Linked DNA regions of Homo sapiens: all the other regions are linked to region 1. Evidence: promoter capture Hi-C in human tissues and cell types (Jung and others, 2019). All regions are on one chromosome and are shown on one strand. The core of a region is centred on a gene start or on the middle of the fragment in contact, and the rest is flanking DNA. Distances in the headings are between cores, read along the strand shown. Region 1 holds the start of ITGB2 (integrin subunit beta 2). Region 2 overlaps COL18A1 (collagen type XVIII alpha 1 chain). Region 3 overlaps CFAP410 (cilia and flagella associated protein 410). Region 4 holds the start of TRPM2 (transient receptor potential cation channel subfamily M member 2).

Region 1 (5,803 bases), core at 1,327-3,826:
AATCGCCACAGGCGTCACGCTGCCCCATCCACAGAGGCAAATGTCCCACAGCCCTGGTACCTGGTGGGGCCCGGCCTGGGCCAGAGTGGACAGACCTGGGCCTGGCAGGAGCCCTGGGGAAGTGAGTTCAAGTTACACGGTTGACTATAGAGACAGCTGGAGTGCGCACAATTGGCCAGACCACCCCTCCTGTTTCACAGATGGGGAAACTGAGTCACGGGGGACCAAATAGCCTGCTCACCCCATGCCCCTTCCAGACAGGGTGCAGATAGGGCCCCTCCCATCTCCTGGATGGCCGCGGCCCCTGTGCAGAACTTCCTTCATGGGCACCTCGCTGTCTGGGGGCCTCTTCCCCAGGGAGTCTCCTGGTGGTGGCCGTGTTGCCTCAGGCTCACTGTGCACTAGGCAGGTCACGTCGATGCCGCCTGAGGGGCAGGGGTTACCACCCTGTGGTTCAGGTGAGAAGCTCCAGGCTCAGGAGTGTCCAGCTGCCTGGGCAGTGTTTGGATCTCATGCCAGCCCCTGCCAGGAGGCCCTGCTTCTCCAGCCCAGCCCACGCCCACCAGGAAATGCCCCTATTTACTCCCTTGAGGCAAAGGCCCTTGGGTGGCTAAGCGTCCCCTCTCCCAGCACTCGGAGCTGAGCGTCCCCTCTCCCAGCACTCGGAGCTGAGCATTCCCCTCTCCCAGCACTCGGAGGCACCTGCAGTTGCTCAGCTGTTCATTGAGTGCTGGGAGTGGAAACTCATACGCTGAGCGGCAGTGACGCTGCGGAGCTGACAAACCCCACAGCCCGCCCGGTCACCTGCTTCACCGAGGGCCACAGCCCCCCCGGGGTCAGGTGGCCACAGGGGTCCTGGCCATGTGGGACATCTGTTCTGTGGCCCTGCTCAGGATGGCACCCGGCGGGGACTGGCCCTGGGGCCGAGGCATGGGCTCAGCCGCCGCCCTGCAGGGACGTAGCCAGGGACCTCTTCCCAGCAGAGGGACTCCCCCACTCATCCCCAGAATACTGAGGGGCACGCTGGGTGCCAGGCTGGCAGGGACCCTGGGGATTCTGCTGTGAGCTGGATGGGGAAGGAGTTCCTTCCTAAAATGTGGAGTCTGGAGGCCACTCTTGGTAAAGTGCTGGCCCCCGGGGATTCTGCAGTGAGCTGGGCATGGATTCTGCAGTGAGCTGGGCTTCACTCATGGTGAAACGCTGGGGTGACGGCAGACAGCCCAGAGCTTCTAGCAGCTCATTTCTGTGAAGCCTCCAGAATCCGGCCTCAGCCCCCAAACCCGCAGGCGTTGCGCCACCGTCACGGGGAAGGCGAGTGACAGCGAGTGTCCCCTATGCCCCCACAGCTCGCTCCCAGGCTGAGCTCTCCGGCCATCCCCCCCCTTCCCCATTGCAGCCATGCCACCCCTCCTTCTCCCCACCCAGGAACTGACAGAGGAGAGGGGCCCCGGATGGACAGGGACAGCAGGGCAGAATCCCAGCTCCCAGATCCAGGGGAGGGGGGATTGGGTGTGGGGACGGTGGTGCAAGGGGTGGTGCCAGGGGTGGAGGATGCATGGGGAGGGCTGGCCCCAAGAGTGCAGTGTTGGGGGAAGGGGGCCAGGTGGGCCTGGGACCCAGGGGCGTGGCTTCAATCCCCCTCCCACCAGGACCTTGGGAATGGCCTCCAGGAGCCTGTTGTGGGGAGGCCAGGGTCACCAGCTGAACCAACTCGACCAGAATCGCACAGCGGTGCCCGCTCCCCTACAGCAAGACGTCACCCAGGGGTCCCCACGGAGGAGGCAGGGAAGCTCGAGGGTCCCAGAGGAGCATGGAGCATGTGCCACACCACACCACACTACATTACACATGTGCACCATACATGTACATACAACAGACTCCCCACATCACATGCGCACACTCGCACACCATACATGCACACACACACACCACACTACGCTATGCCACACACGTGCACCATACATGCACACCATGCCACACTACACACACGACACTACACACCACGAACCACACCACACCATATCACACACCACACACTGCGAGTCGATCTGGAGATGGAATCGCTGTAGCCAGGCGGGGCAGCATGCAGACAGGAGGGCCTAACACAGGCAGGCGCAGCAGGTTCACAGAGGAGGCCCCGGGAACCTGCCTCCTGCCCAGCCCGGAGCACCAGGACCCCCCAGCCGTCCCCCTAGGGGCTTGTGGGCCCAGCCTCTTCCTGGCCTTGCCGGCCTCACAGCCCCTTGTCCTCCCATGCCGGCCCCATCCTCAGCCGCAAGCGCTCCCAGCACACCATGTGGCTCTGCTCTTGGTGGCAGGCACTTCCCCTTGCCGGGTCTCAAAGGGGACCCTGGAGCAGACGGTCTGGAGACCCCTTCCTGCCAGACACCCCTGGGCCGGGGCTATAAGCAGGGCCACCAGGGTCACTCCAGGCTGGGGCAGGAGAGTGCTTCCCTCCAAAAATCACCGTGGACATAGCGGGGCCTCTGCACACTCACCCTCGGTGTGCTGGAGTCCTCGGCGGTGCTCCTGGCTGGGCGTGGGGGCTTTGCTACCAGTCTGCCCTGGGTCACGTCTAGAAACCTCAGCTGGAGGCGCGGGTCGTAAAGTCCTGACACTTCCTGTTCCTCTCAGCTCCTCCTTGGAGGAAGTGGTGGGTTGCACCACCGTGGCCCTTCACCCCTGCCCCTCTCCGCTCTACAGCAGCTCTGATGTCAGAGAGCGGCCCCTTGAGACAGGTGGGACATGTCATTTCTCACATGAGGTCCCGGCGAGAAGGACCTGCTTCCATCAGATTCACACTTGGGAGAGGGGCCCGGCCTCCAGGAGCGCCAGGCAGAAAGGGCACCCATTAGGAAGAAGAACACAGAGGCCATGGGAGTGAAAAGTTTGATGCTGGAAAGCAACAGTAGCACATTCTGCTACAGAGCGGAATGAAAAACCCTGGGGAGCAAATTCCTGAGCCAGAGAATGGAGCGGAGGAACCAGCCAAGGAGGATAAAGAGGTGGGAACAGGCAAGAAAACCTGGGTGCGTGCACGCATTGACATCCACCTGCATGTGAGGGCGGGAGGGGACAGAACAGGGACAGCGAGGAGGAGACACTCAGGTCACAGGAGGAAGGCTGCGGATCTGGGCGGGGACGTGGATTGCGAGGCCACTGAACACCCCAGGGATGGATGGATGAGGTCCTGTTAACTAGGGACATTAGGAGGATACCACAGAACACGAAAGGGAAAATACTACAGGCTCAGAGAGAGAGAGAAGGGAGAGGAGGAGGAGGAGGAAGAGGAGGGAAAGAGATTATACCTAGAAAAAAAACCCAAATCAGACATCTTCAGAGCAAGGACTCAGACACATTACTACCCTAAACTCTGTTTTATTTATTTATTTATTTTTATGTTTTCAGTTTTTTTTGAGACAGAGTTTTGCTTTTGTCACCCAGGCTGGAGTGCAGTGGCGTGATCTCAGCTCACTGCAACCTCTGCCTCCCGGGTTCAAGCAATTCTCCTGCCTCAGCCTCCCAAGTAGCTGGGATTACAGGCACATGTACCACCACGCCTGGGTAATTTTTGTATTCTTAGTAGAGACAGGGTTTCACTATGTTGACCAGGCTGGTCTTGAACTCCTGGCTTCAAGTGATCCATCCACCTCTGCCTTCCAAAGTGCTGGGATTACTGGCGTGAGCCATGGCTCCCGGCTCCTAAACTCTGTTTTAAAGATGTCTTGCAGAAATAGACATGAAGAAATCCATGAGAAATACAAGAGCAGATGATACAAAGTTGGGCAAAGAAATAAGTAAAAATTATGATGTCATAACCTGTTGATTTAAAAAATAGTGGTAAGAATATTAACGCTGTGAAACAAAACGCCTAGAGGACTGGGTTGGGAGGGGCCAGGGAGCACATTGCCGTTCCATCCTATCTGGGGAGGAATATAGATGCTTGTCAGTGGGCATTTTGATAGAAAATATCTAAGTATATATGCTAACAATTCAAGAGTCTCCTTAAGAATAAAAATAGCATGTATATACCTGAAAAAAAATATGACAAATCTTTATTTTGGGCATGGTGGCTCAAACTTGTAATCCCAGCACTTTGGGAGGCCGAGGTGGGAGGATCACTTGAGCCCAGGAGTTCGAGACCAGCCTAGGCAACATTTGGAGACCCAGACCCTCATCTCTACAAAAAAATTTTCTAAGAATTCGCCAGGCATGGTAGCACGCGATATGGTCCAGGCTACTTGGGAGGCTGAGGTGGGAGAATTGCTTGAGCCCAAGAGGTTGAGGCTACGGTGAACCATGCTTACACCACTGCACTCCAGTCTGGGTAACTGAGAAAAAAAAAAAAAAAAAAAGGCAAATCCTTTAAAAGAAAAAAGTAAGGGAAAATAGAACAAACAAGAAAGGTAAATAAAAACCAAACAATAAAACATTGGGAATAATTTCAAACCCATCAGGAATCACAGCACCTGTGAATGGGTTACATTTTCTTGTTTTAAATCAACAAGGTCTTGCGTTGGGTTTTAGAAATAAAGAGACAAAACAAGTTCCAATGAAATGTTCTCTGTCAAGGGTATCTTCTCATTACAGACTTAGCCTAGAAAATAATGAAGAAGGACAGAAAGAGAATACCATTCTACTACACCCGCTGATGACTTAAAGTAAGCAATGACCCTCGCTGCGAACGTCACGGACGCAGCAGACGTTATGCACACACCTTTAATGAATTAGTCTTGATGAAATAACAATAGAAATCAAGAAAAATAGAAAGAACAAATGTTACTATTGAGCCTGAATCAGGTCGAACTTTTTAGATCTACAAAGAAGCATCAGGAGGGTGTGTTAGATGACATCGTAGGGATGCAATTAGCAAAATCCAGGCTGAAGAAACCCTCACAAGGCAAACAGCACAGTACAAGAGGAGAGACGAAGGGAGAGAGACCCTTTAGATTAAGAGATTTAATCTCTTAATAGAACCAATTGCAATGCATGGACCATATTTTAAAATCATTGTTAATTGTTTTAAGTGTGACAATGGTTTGTGGTTATGTTAAAAAGTCCCCATCTTTTAGAGTTACATGTTGAAATATTTGCAGATGGTGCAGTATAATGTTTCAGATTTATTTCCCAATAAAGAGGGGTGGGTTGGGTTGGGGGAGAGTCGGGAGAGGTGTTGATACAACAAGATCACCTGTGAGTTGATTATTTTTGAAGCCACTGTTGGGGACATGGGGCTTCACTAATCTATTCTCTCTACTTCTGTAGATGTGTGAAATTTTTTGTAGTAAGATTAAAAAAACATTTCAAGGAAGTGTAAAGTTATTATTTCGCGGGTATAAAGTTCCCGTTTTGCAAGATGAAATGGTTTTGGAGAAGTTGGTGGTGATGGTTGCACAGTACTAAGTGTCCTTAATGCCACGGAAATGCATAACTTCAAATGGTTAAAATGGTGAATTTATGTTATGTATATTTTATCACAATTAAAAAGTAAAAAGTGTAAGAAAGGCTCTCTATCAGATAAACTGTTAAAAGAGAACACTGAAGGCTGAAAATAAAGAAACGGAAAATACACGTATGTGCTAGAAAATACTAACGAAGATATCGTGTAACATCAAAAAGATAGAAATCAAAGCAAAATGCATCAAATGGACAAAGGAAGATGTAGCCAATGAGAGTCAGAATCCACAGACAGTTCAGCAGCCATAATCCTTTGTGTGCCGAACTTCAAAATATATAAAACAAAGACTGACAAATATATAAGCAAACTGACACAGCCCCAAACAGCAAATATCTCTAACAGATC
Region 2 (5,960 bases), core at 32-2,531, 540 kb after region 1:
GTTTTGCTGTGTTGTGGGCTTGTCCCTCAGGTCCACGAGGAAGGGAGTGAGGCCCCCTCACACGGGAGGGCCGGGGTGGGGTAGGGAGGCTCCCTTGCTGCAGCTGCCAAGAGTGAGCGAGCGGGGCTTGGGCTTGGGCTGCCCGGGACACTGCCTCCAGGAAGCCCCCTGGGCTGTCTCAGTGGGACTCTGTGAGTGACACATGGAGCTCAGGTCACAAGGGCTGTGGGAGTGTCACCCCACAACAGCAACGGGTGCCTGGCCCTCTGGACTTTGCTCTCTACACCCCTCCTGAGCTCTCACAAACCCTGGCCCCTGGGACCGGAGGCAGGTGATGTTTCCAAGGAGTCCTACAGGCAAGCATCCTCTGACCTGGGAGCTGCGTATTGTTCCCGTTTACAGGTGAGAAACTGAGGCCTAGGAAGGACAGACACGTGTGCGTGCCGCAAGTGTGGCTAGCAAGGAGGGAGCCTGGAGGAGGGCCCAGCAGCCTGGCCCCAGAGCGCTCTTCAGCATCGCAGCAGATGCAGGACAAGCAAGCTCCCAGCCGGGGAGCACCAGGAGACCAGCAGGCATCCACCCTCGTGGTGCAGGCCATCTGATGAGGGCAGGGACCAGTGCCGGGATGGATAGTGCCTGTGCACAGAGTGGGGCGCAACTGGGCACAGCTGCCACCGGGGTGCTCGGGAGGCAGGTCCACACACACGCCGGCCAAGTCGCTCATCTCAAATGCACGAGTCCCGTGATCTTGGAAAGTGGTGCACAGGCCCCTGGGCTGGGGCTTCCTCTGCCTCCACCCCCATCACTGGACATTCGGAGGTCAGTGGGAGGCCACGGGAGTGCACGTGAAGGTCATGTCACCATGATGGCCCCGAGGGGCTGCTCCTTCATCGCTCCTCCCTACCCCATGGGCCAGCCACTGGCACACAGGTGTCCTTATATGGTGCTTACCTCTTGCTCCTTTAGTCAAATGCAGAATTTGAGAAAATGTCCCTTCTCCTTAAAATGCTTTGATTTGTTTGATGTTTCCATGTAACTTTGGTTTAAGAAGGGAGAAGACCACTCTGGGAAATAACTCATGCTTATCTCTCACCGCTTGGCAACCTACAAATATTTTTTCGATGATGCTGGCTAAGCTTCTCGTAAATTCTCCATGCCTCTTAGATGCACCAAGAGTGACTCAGCATTTAACTCCTACTGGAGTGTCAAGGGCCCAGTGCATTGGGTGCAGTTGTCTGTGGGTACAAGATCTTGTGTGATTCTGAACTAAGCACAGACAGAATGAAAAGCACAGCACTCCAAACAGGGCTTCCTGCAGGTCCTTTTACGTATATTTGGGTTTTTGTATATATCTAAGGTCAAGCTAGTGGACATCTATCACTTCAACCAGTTACCGTTGTGAGTGTGGTGAGAAAACTTAAGATCTACTCAAGTTTGAAGTGCCATATGCGATACAGTATTCTAGCTGTAATCACCATGTGTACATTAGACCTCTAGAACTTACTTTTCCTGCATAACTGAAACTTTGTACCCTTCGACCAACAGTCACATTTCCTCTTCTCTGTGGGCTGGCCTCGGCTGTGCCCTGTTAGCATTCCCAGATAAACAAAAGCTAAGGGGGTTAATTGCCACTAGACCTTCCCTGCAGGAAATGGTCCAGTAGTCCAACAGGCGAAATGAAAGGACACTACTCAGTAACAGTAAGTCAAGGAGGCCCCCGTTGCCTATGCACAGAGTGGGGTGGCAGCTGTGCCCCATTGCACCCCACTCTGTGCATGGGCACCGTCCATCCGGCACCAGTCCCTACCCCTTATCAGATGGCCTGCACCATTAGGGTGGACACCTGCTGGTCTCCTGGTGCCCCCCTGCAGGGCTCTTCCTTGTCCTGCATCTGCTGCAATGCTGAAGAGCAGTCTGGAGCCAGGCTGCTGGGCCCCCCTCGAGGCTTCCTTGCTAGCCACATCTGTGGCACACACGCATATTTGTCCTTCCTAGACCTCAGCCCCTGACAACCACCATTCTACTCTGCTCCTATGAATGTGACTTTTTTAGATCCCACATGTGAGATCATGCAGTATTTGCTTCTATGCCTGCCTTATTTCCTTTAGTTTAATATCCTCCAGGTTCATTCATAAAAAGTGCAGTTACAAACTGTTGTTGCAATACCAGCTTTTATAATTGCCCATGTATTTACCTTTATTGAGATCTTCATTTCTTCATGTGACTTACTGTTATTGACTAGTGTCCTTTCATTTTACCTGCTGGACTCCCTGGACCATTTTCTGCAGGGCAGGTCTAGTGGCAATTAACTCCCTTAGCTTTTGTTTATCTGGGAATGCCAATTTCTCCCTCACTTTTGAAGGACAGTTTTACTGGATATAGGACTCTTGGTTAACAGTTTTTTTTTTCTTTTAGTACATTGAATATATTGGTCCACTGCCTTTTGGCTTCCAAAGTTTCTGTGACAAATCTGCTGATAATCTTATTAAGAAGCCCTTGGATGTGATCAGTTGCTTTTCTCTTGCTGCTTTCCAGATTCTCTCTCTGTTTTTGAAAGTTTGATGATAATGTAACTTGGTGTGAGTCTCTTTGAGTTTACCTTACTTGGAGTTCCCTGAGCTCTTAACTGTTTATATTCATGTCTCCCAACAAATTTGAGAAGCTTTCAGCCATTATTTCTTCAGATAGTCTCTCTGCACCTTTCTTTTTCTCTTCTGTTTGCAGCTTCCACGGCATGCATGCTTCCTTGTCTCTTGATGGTGGCCACAAGCCCCTTAGGCTCTTTTCACCTTTCTTTCATCTTTTGTCTTTGAAAATTTCCATTATCTTATCTTCAAGCTCATTAATTTATTCTTTTGTCTGCTCAAATCACCTTCAGATTCCTCTAGTGATGTTTTCAATTTCAGCTATTGTACTTTTCAGTTCTGTAATTTCTTTCTGGTTTCTTTCAAGGTTTTTATATTGATATTTCCATGTTGTTCATACATCACTTTCTTGACTTTCTCCACACCTTCCTGTAGTTCTTTGAGCATCTTTAAGACAGTCATTTTAAAGTCTTTGTCTAGTAGATCTGCCATCAGGTCTTTTGCAGAGACAGCTTCTGTTAATTTATTTTTCTCCTTTGAATGTGCTATATTTTCTTATTGCTTTGTGTGCCTTGTGATTTTGTGTTAAAAAGTGAACATTTGAACTCAGTAATGTGGCTCTTGAATTTTGCCCTTCACCAGCGTTCGCTTTTTTTTGTTACTTTTTAAAAAATGTTTTGTGTCTGTGCCAGAAATCTCCCTTAGGTGTGAACTTCAGGTCTTCTCAGGTCTTTTCTGAGCCTGTCCCTTTCCCTGGGTGTGTGCAGCCACTTTCTAATTTTCCTCTTACATGCTGCTGTTTTTCAATGTCCCGTTCTTTCATGTTTGGCTCCCAAAGGAGGAATAAGATAAAAATGAGGGAGAAAAAACAGTGCCAGCCCTCTAAATCCCCTTCAAGTCACTTCAGCTGGAAGGGGCAGCTTGCAACAACAGAGGGAGTGTAAAACAATGGCCCCACCTCCCTGTCTGCACATCTGTGATCCCAGGCAACCTGATCAGAGCACAGGTTCTCGATGTCTGCAGGACAGGGTCCTTTTTGCCGTCCTGTTTCCCACAAGCTGTGTGGCTGCTGCTCCAGGAACTCGTGCATGGCACCTGCTATGGGAATGGGGGTGGAGGATGGATGTGTGGCTGCTATTGTGCCAAGAGCTGGGGTTTAGCTAAATTAACCACCCGTTACCGTCCAAGCCTTCCTGTGGACATTGCAAGCTTTCAGTAGACTCCAGAGTTCCAAAAGAGTTCTAAGACAAATTCTGCCCATGCACTTGTTAATTAGTTGGGGAGATGGATTCCTGGCGCTTTCCATCTGCCATTTACCAGAGTACTCCAGAATCATTTTCAAACACGTTTCTTTCTGTCAAGAAATCAAGTCTTGGCCAGGCATGGTGGCTCACGTCTGTAATCCCAGCACTTTGGGATGCCGAGGCATGCGGATCGCCTGAGGTCGGGAGTTGGAGACCAGCCTGACCAACACGGAGAAACCCCATCTCTACTAACAATACAAAATTAGCTGGGTATGGTGGTGCATGCCTGTAATCCTAGCTACTCGGGATGCTGAGGCAGGAGAACTGCTTGAACCTGGGAGGTGGAGGTTGTGGTGAGCTGAGATTGCACCACTGTACTCCAGCCTGGGCAACAAGAGCGAAACTCCATCTAAAAAAAAAAAAGAAAAGGAAAGAAATCAAGTCTTGAGGCATCATCATTGTTATATCATGTGCAGGTGTCTAGCCTGGATGCCACCCAGCTATGCCAAATGCGGGGAGAAACTCCCTATGGGCACTGTGGCTGGGTCCAGAGCTCAGAGGCTGGAGCTTTGAGAACTGGGCTGGAGCCAAACCATGATGGAAGCCTCTAGCTCTCAGGAAGAGACACACATCTGCGGGGGCAGAGTGACCACATTTCCAGGTTGCCCAGCCCTCGGGAGTAGCACAGTGCCCAGGCACTGGGGCAGAGGTGGATCCCGTAGTCCCTCGGTGGGAGCTCCAAAGCCTCCCGTTTTCATCTCTTCCTCTTCCCAGGATGGGATTTTGGGGATGAGATCTTCCTGGTGGGCTGGAGTCTGTCCCAGAAGTCAACAGCCCAACCTGGGGCCAAAAAAGACCCTCTTAGATAAGGCAGGCCCTCGGCAAGACTCCAGCCACACATGAGAGGGTGGAACAGAGCTCCTGAGTCCCACTAACCACGGCCACCTGCAGTGGTCAGGTGGGGGCACCGTGTCCATCCCCCCATGGGTTTGTGCCAATTTGCATATAGGTATGTAGCTTCCTATTGGCGACTGTAAGAAATTGCCACAAATTCAGTGGCTTAAACCAACACAGCTGTCTTACCTTTCAGTTTTGGAGGTCAGAGTCTGAAACCAGTTCACTGGGCTGAAACCAAGGTGTTGTCAGGGCTGGGTCCCTCTGGGACTCTGGAGGAGAATCTGTTTTCTTGACTTTTCCAGCCTCTAGAGGCTGCCGCTTCCCTTCGCTCAAAGCCCCTTCTTCCCCCTTCAAAGCCAACGGTGTTGGACAAGTCCTCATGGTGCCATCTTTTGTCCTTCGATTTTAAGGCTTTGTGTGGTTAGAAGTGGATCATCTCCCATCTCCAGGTCCACAGCCTGAGTCCCAGCTGCAGCATCCCCTTGCCACGTAAAATTACGCTTGTGGGTTCCAGCTGTTGTGCCGTGGACATCCTTGGGGCCATGGCTCTGCCCACCACAGTTTGTCCATGTGCACGGCTGCACATGTGTACATATGCATGGGAGTCTTACTTTGCATTAATGGGATTGCCCTGTGTCTGAAAGTTCCTCTTTCCTTTATCCTGCATCTCAGGAGTCTCCATAACTCCAGGGAGATGCTCTGCTCTTCGTGTTGTTCTGGTCTTTTCCTCAGCCCTTCCTGACTGAAGCACTCGCAGGTATTTCTGCTTCTCTGTATAACAGATGACCCTGCAGACACCTGCTCAGCCCCGACTGGCGGGTTCATCGCACAGCCTCGCCTTTGTTTATCAGACACCAGCTGAGCCACCCCACCTGTGCCTGGCGTGGGTTTTGGGTCAGCGCTGACGGTGGAGAGATTGAATGTTGTAAACGTGTCCGAGTGTCAACAGGAAGTCTCCACCCGGGGACAGGGGCCCGTTTCTTAGGTTGTTTTTAGCCTTCCGTGGGGGCTCTGCAGCCTTGGGATTTGGTGGAGGTGTTTGTTCTGAGGCCGTTTTTCTTTGATGCCAAGATGTCCCCCCGGGCACTTCACTGCGTAAGTGCTATGGTGTGATGGAGTGATGATGGTGGCGCACTCTTCAAGCTCTGGATCAGGTTCCGGAAGCTCTGTGTGAGTCTTACTGAGGTGGTTATTTTCTCTTTTCCCTGGAAAGTGGGCTGAGAGCACTCCATGT
Region 3 (3,952 bases), core at 529-3,028, 590 kb before region 1:
TCCAAGCAAAGGAGGGGCTCATACAAATCCCACCTGGCACACGGGGGCAAGAGAAGGGAGGCAACTCCTGGGAGGTCAGGGGCTACAGATGGCAGCTCCTGGAGAGCCCGGCACTTACTTCACCTGTGGGGCGCCCTCCCGGCACCCTGGGGCTCCCCAGCTGTAACACCTTCCACCCAGGGCTTCAGGGGCAGGGTGGGGGGCACCCGAACACACAAATGCCGGGGGAGAGCTCCTGACCATGGGGTCAGGCCCTGTGCCGGATGGCAGATGCCTAACAGAGATCACATCCCGATGCCCCCACCACAGGCACCAGCAGCGGGTGTGATCTGCCAAGCAGGAGAGAAGTGCCCAGCTTCTGTCAAATGCGTTCGTGACCCGCTGCCAACTGCCCTGGGAGGCGCCGGCGTCTCACTGCAGAGTCAGCCCTGTGGCCCCTCCACGGCCCCCAGGCCCAAGGCCATACGGGCACTGATGGCCGTGCCCACAAACCATTCCAGTCACTGTGGCCCTAGGCCACCCCCCCCACCAGGGGCTCCCTGCACCTCACGAGCTCTGGTGCTGTGAGCCTTCTCTGTGCCAGGGCACGGGGCCTGGCTCACCCCCTCTCCTGCTCCCTGGCACATCCGCTGTTGGGCAAAACATGGACCTGCCACTGAAATCACTACCTGGGCACTGAGTCACTCCCAGAGAATATGGATGAGAACAGACACTCCCCCCGGATAATCCCTGTCCCTCACTTCCCAGAGACGCAGCTCACGGGAAGCCCCATTCACTCCCCGTGGGAGGACCCTGGGGGACAGGGATGGGCTGCGGAGTCCCCGCTGCCCTCCAGCCTCACGTTGCCTCCTCCTCGCTGTCCAGCGGGTCCCGGCCAGTCTCAGCAGCGGAGCTGAGGGAGCTCAGTGTGCAGCATAGCTTGGGGCCGCCGTGGCCTGTGCCCTCTCTCTCTGGGGCCGCAGTGATCTCCTCTCCCTCACTCAGTGCACGGGACAGCTCCTCCTCCGTCACAGCTTTGGGATGAAAGACAGAAGACAGCATGAGTGGCCTCACCCACGTGCAGGCCACATGCACTGCAGCTCCCGTCCTCACTGTGGCTTCAGGCACAGTCTGCTTGTGAAATGCATGCACGTGTATCCACCTCCAGGGACAACTCCCAGAGTAGCAGCCGGTTCCTCACTGTCCCATCCCCAGCCTGGCACAGGCTGACACACAACAGATGGTGGAGGGCTGCTCAGGAATCTCAACACCAGCCTTGGCCAGAAGCAAATACTCCTCAAAACCTCAACTAAGACACAATAGAAAAAGGAACAGACCATATTGAATTTATTCCATTTCTCTCATATATCAATTTCCCTGAAGTTTATATTATTAATATCAATAAAATTGTCTGGGAGAAAATAGTGGTGTCTGTATACCTGACAAGGATGAGACACTAGTGTGCTGAGAATGCCAAGGATGAACAAACAGCATGAAACCACAGCCTGGAAAACTGTGTCGGTGCTGGCGCTGGCTAGAGGAGGCACGAGTGCCTCCAATAGGTGGAGCGCAGCAGCAGGCACTGCGGTGCTGGGACGGCCCCTCCCCACGGCAGGGGCGCGATGGCACCGCCACCCTAGGTTCACAGTGGCCCGTGGAGCCTGCCCAGTCCCTGTGGACCAGTGCGATGCTGCTTGCCAGATACTGACGCCCCCGCTCGCCATGGCGCATGGCGATGGTCAGAGCAGGGCTGCTACTCACAGAAGCAAAAGAAGGAACCCTTTTGCTTTGCTACCAGGTCCTGCGGTCGTTGGGGGATACCCAAACTGTCAGTCCCAGGAGGGACCCTACGCTGCGCTGCTGCATTCGGGTGGCGGGATCAAGAGGAGACACAGAAGCCAGGGGAACAGCCTCTGGAGGAGACTTCACAGGACACATCTATGTCCCGCCAGACCAGGTATTTGCAGAAAAGGAGAAGAGAAAAGAGGGCTGGGGACATCCCCTTCCAGGGATTGTTTTGGGAGGGCCGGTGACTCCGCTGCGGCCACCTACCCTGGTTGTCCAGCTTCTGTAGGCGCGGCAGGGTGCGCAGCACGGTCATGCGGTAGCGGTGGGGGCTGGTGCCGCAGCACGGGTTCTCGGCCAGCCACAGCACCCGCAGACGCGGCAGCCCCTTCAGGTAGAAGAGCTCAGCCAGGCTGGGGATGCGGTTCCTCCGCAGGTACAGCTCACTCAGGCGCTGGCACCGGCTCACAGGCTCCAGGGTGGAGATGCTGTTGACACTGCACGGAGACCAGCACAGTCAGCGAGGGACGTGGCCAGGGCCCCCAGGGCCACCTCTCAATCCCCACCCCCAGTAAAAGGCACTCATGGGACCTGTGTCCCTGCCCTCTCCTGAGAAGCCTAAATCGGATGTCACAAGTCACGTGCAGCAGGACCTGGGCCGAGGAGAGAGCTGTAGGAAGGCCAGGCCCTGAACTCAAAGGCGGACTGGGGTGGACCCCACCAGCAACAGCCCCTTGGCCCGACGCTCCACATCAGCTCCTCAGGGCGCTAGAGTGCGGGAGGTGGGGGATGTGGCCCTCCTTCACAGGTGAGGAAAATTAAGGCCTCTCAGGGGACATATCATGTTGCCCCAAAGCAGGGAGCGGCCAGAAAAACTCATGGCAAAAACTAGGAGCCAGCTCCACGTGACATGGGAGTGAGCACGGACCTTCCAAACCCCCACTTGAGGGCGGCAACACTGGGGATGGGCCTCATTTCCATTCTACAGAACGTGGACGCGTCAGAGAAGAGAAACAGCAGGCCTGGAGCGGGGACCTGCAGGCTTTACCCTGCAGCGTGGGGTCCGTCCCCTCCACAAGCGAACACGCGGAGCCGCTCCCGCAGGCCCTCAAAGGCGCGGAGCCAGGGCCCCCTGCCTGGAGGGCTGCACTCGCGTCCGGCAGGCGCCTCAGAAGGGCGGTCACCAGGCCCCCATGGGCAGCCTGCCGTCCTGAGCCCCCCTCCCCATGCCATCCCTTCACTCGGGGTTTCCCAGGTCTCATGCAGCTCCTAGCTATGAGGCCGCCCCATTTTACCAAGAGCAAAACTCCGGCTGTGGGACTCTTTCCAGGATGGGGTCTGCCTCAGGCACAGGCAGCAGCGTGATGTACCGACCGCGTCCGCGGCCTCGAGGCTTCCTGCTCCGCTCCAGTGCAGTCAGGCGTGCAGGCACCACGCACCTGAGCTCGGTCAACACCCCTGGGGTCCTGTCCCTCCCGAGATGTGACAGAAATGGCCCCACACACGAGCGGCCTGATGCTCGGAGGCCCTGTGGCCCCTGGGTGACTCAGTGAGCGGCAGGGATAGGGCTGGATCCACAGCCCCGCCCCAAGCTTCCTGCCACCGTGGGAACCACAAGCTCCACGTTTCCCTGTCAGGTAAGCCTTTCGGAGGCAGGCCTGAAATCCCAGCCTCACTGTGTCGCCTGACTAGTGAAACGAGCCCCGCGGCAGGCACGCGCACCCCCCCTCAACCTCTGGGCGGGCACGCGCACCCCCCCCCCCCCCCCGCTCAACCTCTGGGCGGGCACGCGCACCCCTGCTCAACCTCTGGACTCGGGCTCCATCTCCTCCTCATCTCCCTGTGGGGTGGGCACTTGTAATACCTCCATGTTACAGAAAGGAAACTGAGGCACAGAGAGGGCCATGCCTCGCCCAAGGTTAGCCAGCCAATAGATGGGAGGGCTGAGATTTGACCCATGAGCATGCCTCCAAGCCCATTTCATTCATTCAGCAAGGCTCGGGCAGGACAGGCTGGTGCCCGCGCTGGGGATGCCTGAACACCAGATGGACTGGCCTCAGCCCATGGCGGGCAGCAGGCTGGGCACGGGCATCAACATGGCAATGCCAACCTCAGAGGGCATTACGGAGGATGGGCAGGGGCTGGCCTACCCCGTGGCTGCCTGTGAGATCAAGAAGGTAGGTCACAG
Region 4 (5,341 bases), core at 726-3,225, 570 kb before region 1:
GGAAGGTCGTTGCCAGGCCTGGGTTTTCAGGGTTCTGCACCCCTGGGCTGAGGCTGAGGCACCCGTCCTGTTGGGCACTGGGTCGAGCCATTGGCCCCCCCACAGCGGGCATCAGATGCTCACAGGGGCTCCTGGCTGCCTCCTGCAAAGTCGGGTGGTGCTGGAGCAGGTCTGACCTGCTTCCCAGGGCCTGCTTGCCTCTGGGATTAGAGGAACCTGCACAAGACCCCAGGGGCTGTGCTGAGGTGGACAGCTGCCTGAAAGATGAGCGTGTGAACAGAACATGCTGGTCTTAAGGCAGAGAGTCCCACACCGTGGACCCTCCCGTCTGATGCTGGGGTCTTCGTTTCCAGCGTGGAGCCATCCTCATCCCGTGCAGGGTGGACCGCCTGCCTGGGGAGCCACCTGCAGTCTGGGTCCCCTTGCGGTGCCACTGCGATCTCTCTAGAGCCTCCTCTTCCTCCTGCCACTGGGGACATCTCTGCCCCTCTGCTTCCCTCGGAAGCTGGTTGTGAAGCCGGGCCAGTGGCTGCGGGGACAGCTCATGGCCCTGGAAAGACCCCACTGGCATGCGGCACAACATCTGCTCTGAGAACTGCAGGAAAAGGCCGGGCAGGGCACCCCTGCCATCCTGCCAGTGAAGTTTACGGGTCTCGGAATGAGTGTGGCCAAGGGGCAAAGGGGAGGAGGGAGAGGGGGAGGTGGGGTTGCCTGAGAGTGCCCGCCCCAGGACAGCAGCCCGTAGCTCAGCCCCAAGAGCCCGGCACCGAGCTTCGAGCTGCGTGGCCCCGAAGAGGGGCTCAGTCACCTAATGTGATGAGGGGACGGCAGAGCAAAGGCTTGTCTGACAGTGACCGTCGTGTGTAGTGGAGAGGACGTGGCCAGAGATCTGGTTTCAGGGCAGGGATGAGGGGGGATTCCAGTCAGATCTTTTGCATCCCAGCAACCCTCCCCTTGACACCTTTGGGGCAGTGGCAGGGGATGACCATGGATGACCTCATGAGAACACTGTGGGTGTCAGGGACTCAGGGAGGCCCCGCAGGGCTTGAACATGCTTATGTTTCTCATTTGTAAAGGGAGGGCAGTCATCCGGTGGCTTCTTGTGGCCTCGGTGATGAAGGCCACATCAGAGCCAGGGGGAAAGGATATGAGAGAAAAAGATTCATTTGAATTATTGTCTTTTTCCTGGAGTGGAGAGATGTGGTACTCCCCAAAACTTCCTTTCTAGGCTGGGCACAGTGGCTCACGCCTGTAAAACCAGCACTTTGGGAAGCGGAGGCTGGTGGATCGCCTGAGGTCAGGAGTTTGAGACCAACCTGACCAACATGGTGAAACCCTGTTGCTACTACATACAAAAAAAATTAGCAGGGTGTGGTGATTGGCGCCCATAATCCCAGCTACTGGGGAGGCTAAGGCAGGAGAATCACTTGAACCAGGGAGACCGAGGTTGCAGTGAGCCGAGACTGCGTCACTGAACTCCAGCCTGAGCGACAAAGTGGGACTCCGTCTCAAAAAACAAGAAGAAAAAGAAACTTCCTTTGTGGACAGTGAGGGCTATTTAAAAAAATTTTGGAATATGAAAGTAGTCACTGGTGTCTGGAAGCAGGAGCTGTGCAGAATTGTACAGTTGCGAAACCATGTCGCTGGCAGCTGGTGCTGGCGGTGGAGACTTCCCTGTGCGGTGCTCAGTGCAGCTGCACCCGTGGGGGAGGGAGCTCTTTCTCTGGCCCTGCAGTCACCTGAGGTTGTTACCATTATGAACGGCCGCTGGGACCCCCGCATGTGCATGTACTCCCCCAGAGTGTCCGGGGGCCCCAGCCAAGGGACACAGCTCAGGCAGCTGGGAACATGTGCAGGCTGATGAAGAGAACCGGATGAGGGCTTCACATGAGGAAGCATGTGGCCAGGTCCTCTCAGAACATCAGCCTCATCTTCCTGTCTCTGATCTATTTCAGCAACCACCCCATGTGTCTCTAGAACCCCAGTGTAGCGAGCTGGAGAGAGGACTGTCCTGAGGGCAGCAGGCCTGGTTGCAGCTGGCGTGGGGGTCTCAGAATGGAGCCCTCAGCCCTGAGGAAAGCTGGCTCGGAGCAGGAGGAGGGCTTTGAGGGGCTGCCCAGAAGGGTCACTGACCTGGGGATGGTCTCCAATCTCCGGCGCAGCAACAGCAGCCTCTTCAAGAGCTGGAGGCTACAGTGCCCCTTCGGCAACAATGACAAGGTAGGCTTTCTGCTGGTCAGCCTGCAGTTGGCACGTGGCCACGGAGGTCACCGTTGGGCAGGTCATAGCTTGAGGCTGTGACGACGGGGGTGGGAAAGGGTCTGCTGACCTTGGGGGCTCCTGCCCAACCATACCTTTGGGAGAACAGAACTGGGGAGGGTGATGCGTGTCTCGTCTTCTGTGGGTTGCATGACCATTTCCCATGGTTGGTCTGATTGGGAAATCACCGGGTTAACTCAAAAATGTTGCGCTAGAGTCCTGGAAATCTGTTACCCGTGCTTACCTTGTTGCATAATGATTTCACATCCTTTATCCGATTGGGAGGGCCTGGGCCTGGGCTAGCTTTCCCCAAAGCCCTGGATACAAAGACACAAGTATGTTGAAAGCACATGGCATCTTGCAGTCCCCTTGCCAGGCAGGCAGGAGGGTGGCTGCCCTTTTTCCGATGGTGCAAGATCCAGGTCCCCAGATCCCCAGCCTCCACGTTTTCCACCACACCATGTTGTTCCCAAGGAAGGTGGTGGTGCTGTAGAAACTGTAAAGTGCGCGCACATTCAAAATGGTCCCAAGAGGAAATGATTTCTTAGATTCATTCCTCCCTCCTGAATCCCCACCGGAGAGTCTTGGCAAGGTGCTTCTAATCTTTGGCTCAGGGTCGCGCAGGCTTCCTTCCTTCAAGCAAATAGTGTGAAAGCTCCTCAAGGAGCTCAGATGTGTCTCCAGGGGGCTGGGTGTGCTCTTTCGAATGTTGGAAGATCTCAGTGTGCTGTCTTTACCTTCAGCAAGAAAGCCTCAGTTCGTGGATTCCTGAAAACATCAAGAAGAAAGAATGCGTGTATTTTGTGGAAAGTTCCAAACTGTCTGATGCTGGGTAAGTGACGTGATTTGTGTGTAAGACCTCTGACTTCTTCCTTCCGATCCCACATGGAGTAGCTGATCAGGCCAAGACCCCTCAGGGCCTCAGTGAAGGGTCACTGGAGATACCTCTGTCTCCATACGAGGCTTAGAGTCCACAGAGCATTTCCACCTAACCCTTGCAAGCCTCCTGTCGGGGACAGTTGACCCTCATCCTGCCTCGCAGGTGCAGGGACCAAAGTGCAGAGTTTAGGTGACTTGTTCAGGGTCATAAGGGCACTGTCGCGCGGCGAGGCCCAGTGGTGTGAACACAGATGCATCCTCTAATCCTCTCATTTCCACACCTGCCCCCACCCCAAGAGAGAGAGTCCCAGGGTCCAGGAACTGGAAGGGCCTTAGGGAGAGTCCATGGCCAGAAGACTGCCCCCCTGCACAGCTTGCCAAAGCCAGAGGCCCGACTTGCCCCCAGGCCCCACAGAGCCCCCTTTGCCCCTCCTCCCCACAGAGCCCACGACTCAGGTGTGGCCAAGACCCCCGCCCAGGCAACATGGCCACTGTCTCTGAGTGGCTGGATATGGCCCTCCGGAGCCGATGGTGCTCCCCGCAGTTGGCGCCCCTTTAGGCACGGACAGAGTGTTGATTCATGTTTGTGTGCCCTCCCCGAGCAACACCCATTTCATGCTCTTCCACAAATGGGCCACACGCTTCCTCCTTTTACTCCATTGCCTGGTGAGCTCCTACTTATCCCTCAAGGCCTATTGCAGATGCTGCCTCTGCCGTGCAGCCTTCCGTGACTATACAACCTCTACCAGGAAGTGAGCTTCCCTCCTACCGCACCGTGTGTTTCTCTTTGATCCCAGCTGTCGTGCTGTAACTGTGTGGCTTTGTGTTCATCTTTCTTGCTAGCTGCTGAGCTTCTGGGGGGCTGGGACGAAAGCAGAGTGTTGTGTTAATTCCCAGAGAGTGGCCTTCAGCTCATATTTACTGAATATGGGGAGGGAGAAGCATCCTGTGCTTGGGAAATAGAAGAAGACTGTGTTGCCCCAGGGTACCTCTAGTGTACTCGGTACATCATCAGAGTTTCACGGTCACCAATACAACAGCTGTCCCTCCGCATCCCTGGGGAATTGTTCCCGGACACCCACGGACACCAAAATCCCATATCTCGTATCAGTCCCAAAATCTCATATCAAGTCACTGATATGAGATGGTGTGGTATTTGCATATAAACTATGTACATCCTTCAGCATACTTTAAATCATCTCTAGATTACTTATAATACCTGATACAATGTAGATGTTATAAAAATAGTTATACTGCATTTAAAAAATTTGTATTTTTGGGCCGGGCGCGGTGGCTCACGCCTGTAATCCCAGCACTTTGGGAGGCCGAGGCAGGTGATCCACCCGCCTCGGCCTCCCAAAGTGCTGGGATTACAGGCGTGAGCCACTGCATCTGGCTATGTTATTTTTAATTGTTTTTTTTTTCCTGAATATTTTTAGTCTGCGTTTGGCTGAATCTGCAGATGCAAAACTCGCGGCCATGGAGGGCTGGATGTAGAGACAGTGATGAAGAGCCCCATGTGGAAGGAGCGGGGTCTGTAGAGCAGTGGTACTCCAGCCTCGGAGCTCACCCTTGTTACTGGAAAGGGGTCCCGATCCAGACCCCAAGGGCGGGTTCTTGGATCTCACACGAGAAAGTATTTGGAGCGAGTCCACAGAGTAAAGTGAAAGCAAGTTATTAACAATGTAAAGGAATAAAAGAATGGCTTCTCCATAGGCAGAGCAGCCCTGAGGGCTGCTGCTTGGCTATTTTTTTTTTTTTTTTTTGAGACGGGGTCTCGCTCTGTCGCCCAGGCTGGAGTGCAATGGCATGATCTTGGCTCGCTGCAACCTTCGTCTCCCAGGTTCATGCGATTCACCATGTTGGCCAGGCTGGTCTGGAACTCCTGACCTCAGGTGATCCACCAGCCTTGGCCTCCCAAAGTGCTGGGATTTCAGGCATAAGCCACCGTGCTTGGCTGGTTGGCTATTTTTATGGTAGTTTTGGATCATGTGCTTAACAAGGGTGGATTATTCATGAGTTTTATGGGAAAGGAGCGGGGATTTCCCAGAACTGATTTCCTCTTTCTTTCAGACCATACAGGGTATTTCTGATGTTGCCATGGCATCTGCCAACTGTCATGGTGCTGGTGGGAGTGTCTCTTACATGTTAATATGTTATAATTAGCGTGTAATGGGCAGCGAGGATAACCAGAGCCCACTTT

The links. Contacts are between HindIII fragments. The study calls those that stand out against the background at their distance.
Region 2: a fragment that was not itself captured here is called in contact with the fragment with the promoter of ITGB2 in region 1 in 3 of the 25 tissues and cell types used here (dorsolateral prefrontal cortex, heart left ventricle and spleen).
Region 3: a fragment that was not itself captured here is called in contact with the fragment with the promoter of ITGB2 in region 1 in 1 of the 25 tissues and cell types used here (spleen).
Region 4: the fragment with the promoter of TRPM2 here is called in contact with the fragment with the promoter of ITGB2 in region 1 in 1 of the 25 tissues and cell types used here (spleen).

The regions. Positions count from the first base shown.
Region 1 is chr21:44,918,323-44,924,125 of GRCh38, forward strand. ITGB2 (integrin subunit beta 2) reads right to left here and starts at 2,577. Exons shown (of 16, transcript NM_000211.5): 1 at 2,499-2,577. ITGB2-AS1 (ITGB2 antisense RNA 1) reads left to right here and starts at 2,713. Exons shown (of 3, transcript NR_038316.1): 1 at 2,713-3,005. RefSeq lists an enhancer at 1-84 and a silencer at 1,168-1,227. The HindIII fragment of the contact is 46,650 bases long and covers 1-5,803 here.
Region 2 is chr21:45,459,657-45,465,616 of GRCh38, forward strand. All of the region lies in intron 2 of COL18A1 (collagen type XVIII alpha 1 chain), which reads left to right. Among named protein-coding and RNA genes, the nearest start is that of MIR6815, 16 kb to the right of the region's middle. RefSeq lists an enhancer at 5,606-5,960. The HindIII fragment of the contact is 3,893 bases long and covers 1-3,228 here.
Region 3 is chr21:44,331,002-44,334,953 of GRCh38, forward strand. It overlaps CFAP410 (cilia and flagella associated protein 410), which reads right to left. Exons shown (of 7, transcript NM_004928.3): 4 at 2,032-2,261; 5 at 842-1,013. Among named protein-coding and RNA genes, the nearest start is that of CFAP410, 6.4 kb to the right of the region's middle. RefSeq lists enhancers at 367-868, 869-1,368. The HindIII fragment of the contact is 7,900 bases long and covers 1-3,952 here.
Region 4 is chr21:44,351,646-44,356,986 of GRCh38, forward strand. TRPM2 (transient receptor potential cation channel subfamily M member 2) reads left to right here and starts at 1,976. Exons shown (of 32, transcript NM_003307.4): 1 at 1,976-2,220; 2 at 3,003-3,091. The coding sequence starts at 2,056. RefSeq lists enhancers at 2,192-2,241, 2,402-2,451. The HindIII fragment of the contact is 21,861 bases long and covers 1-5,341 here.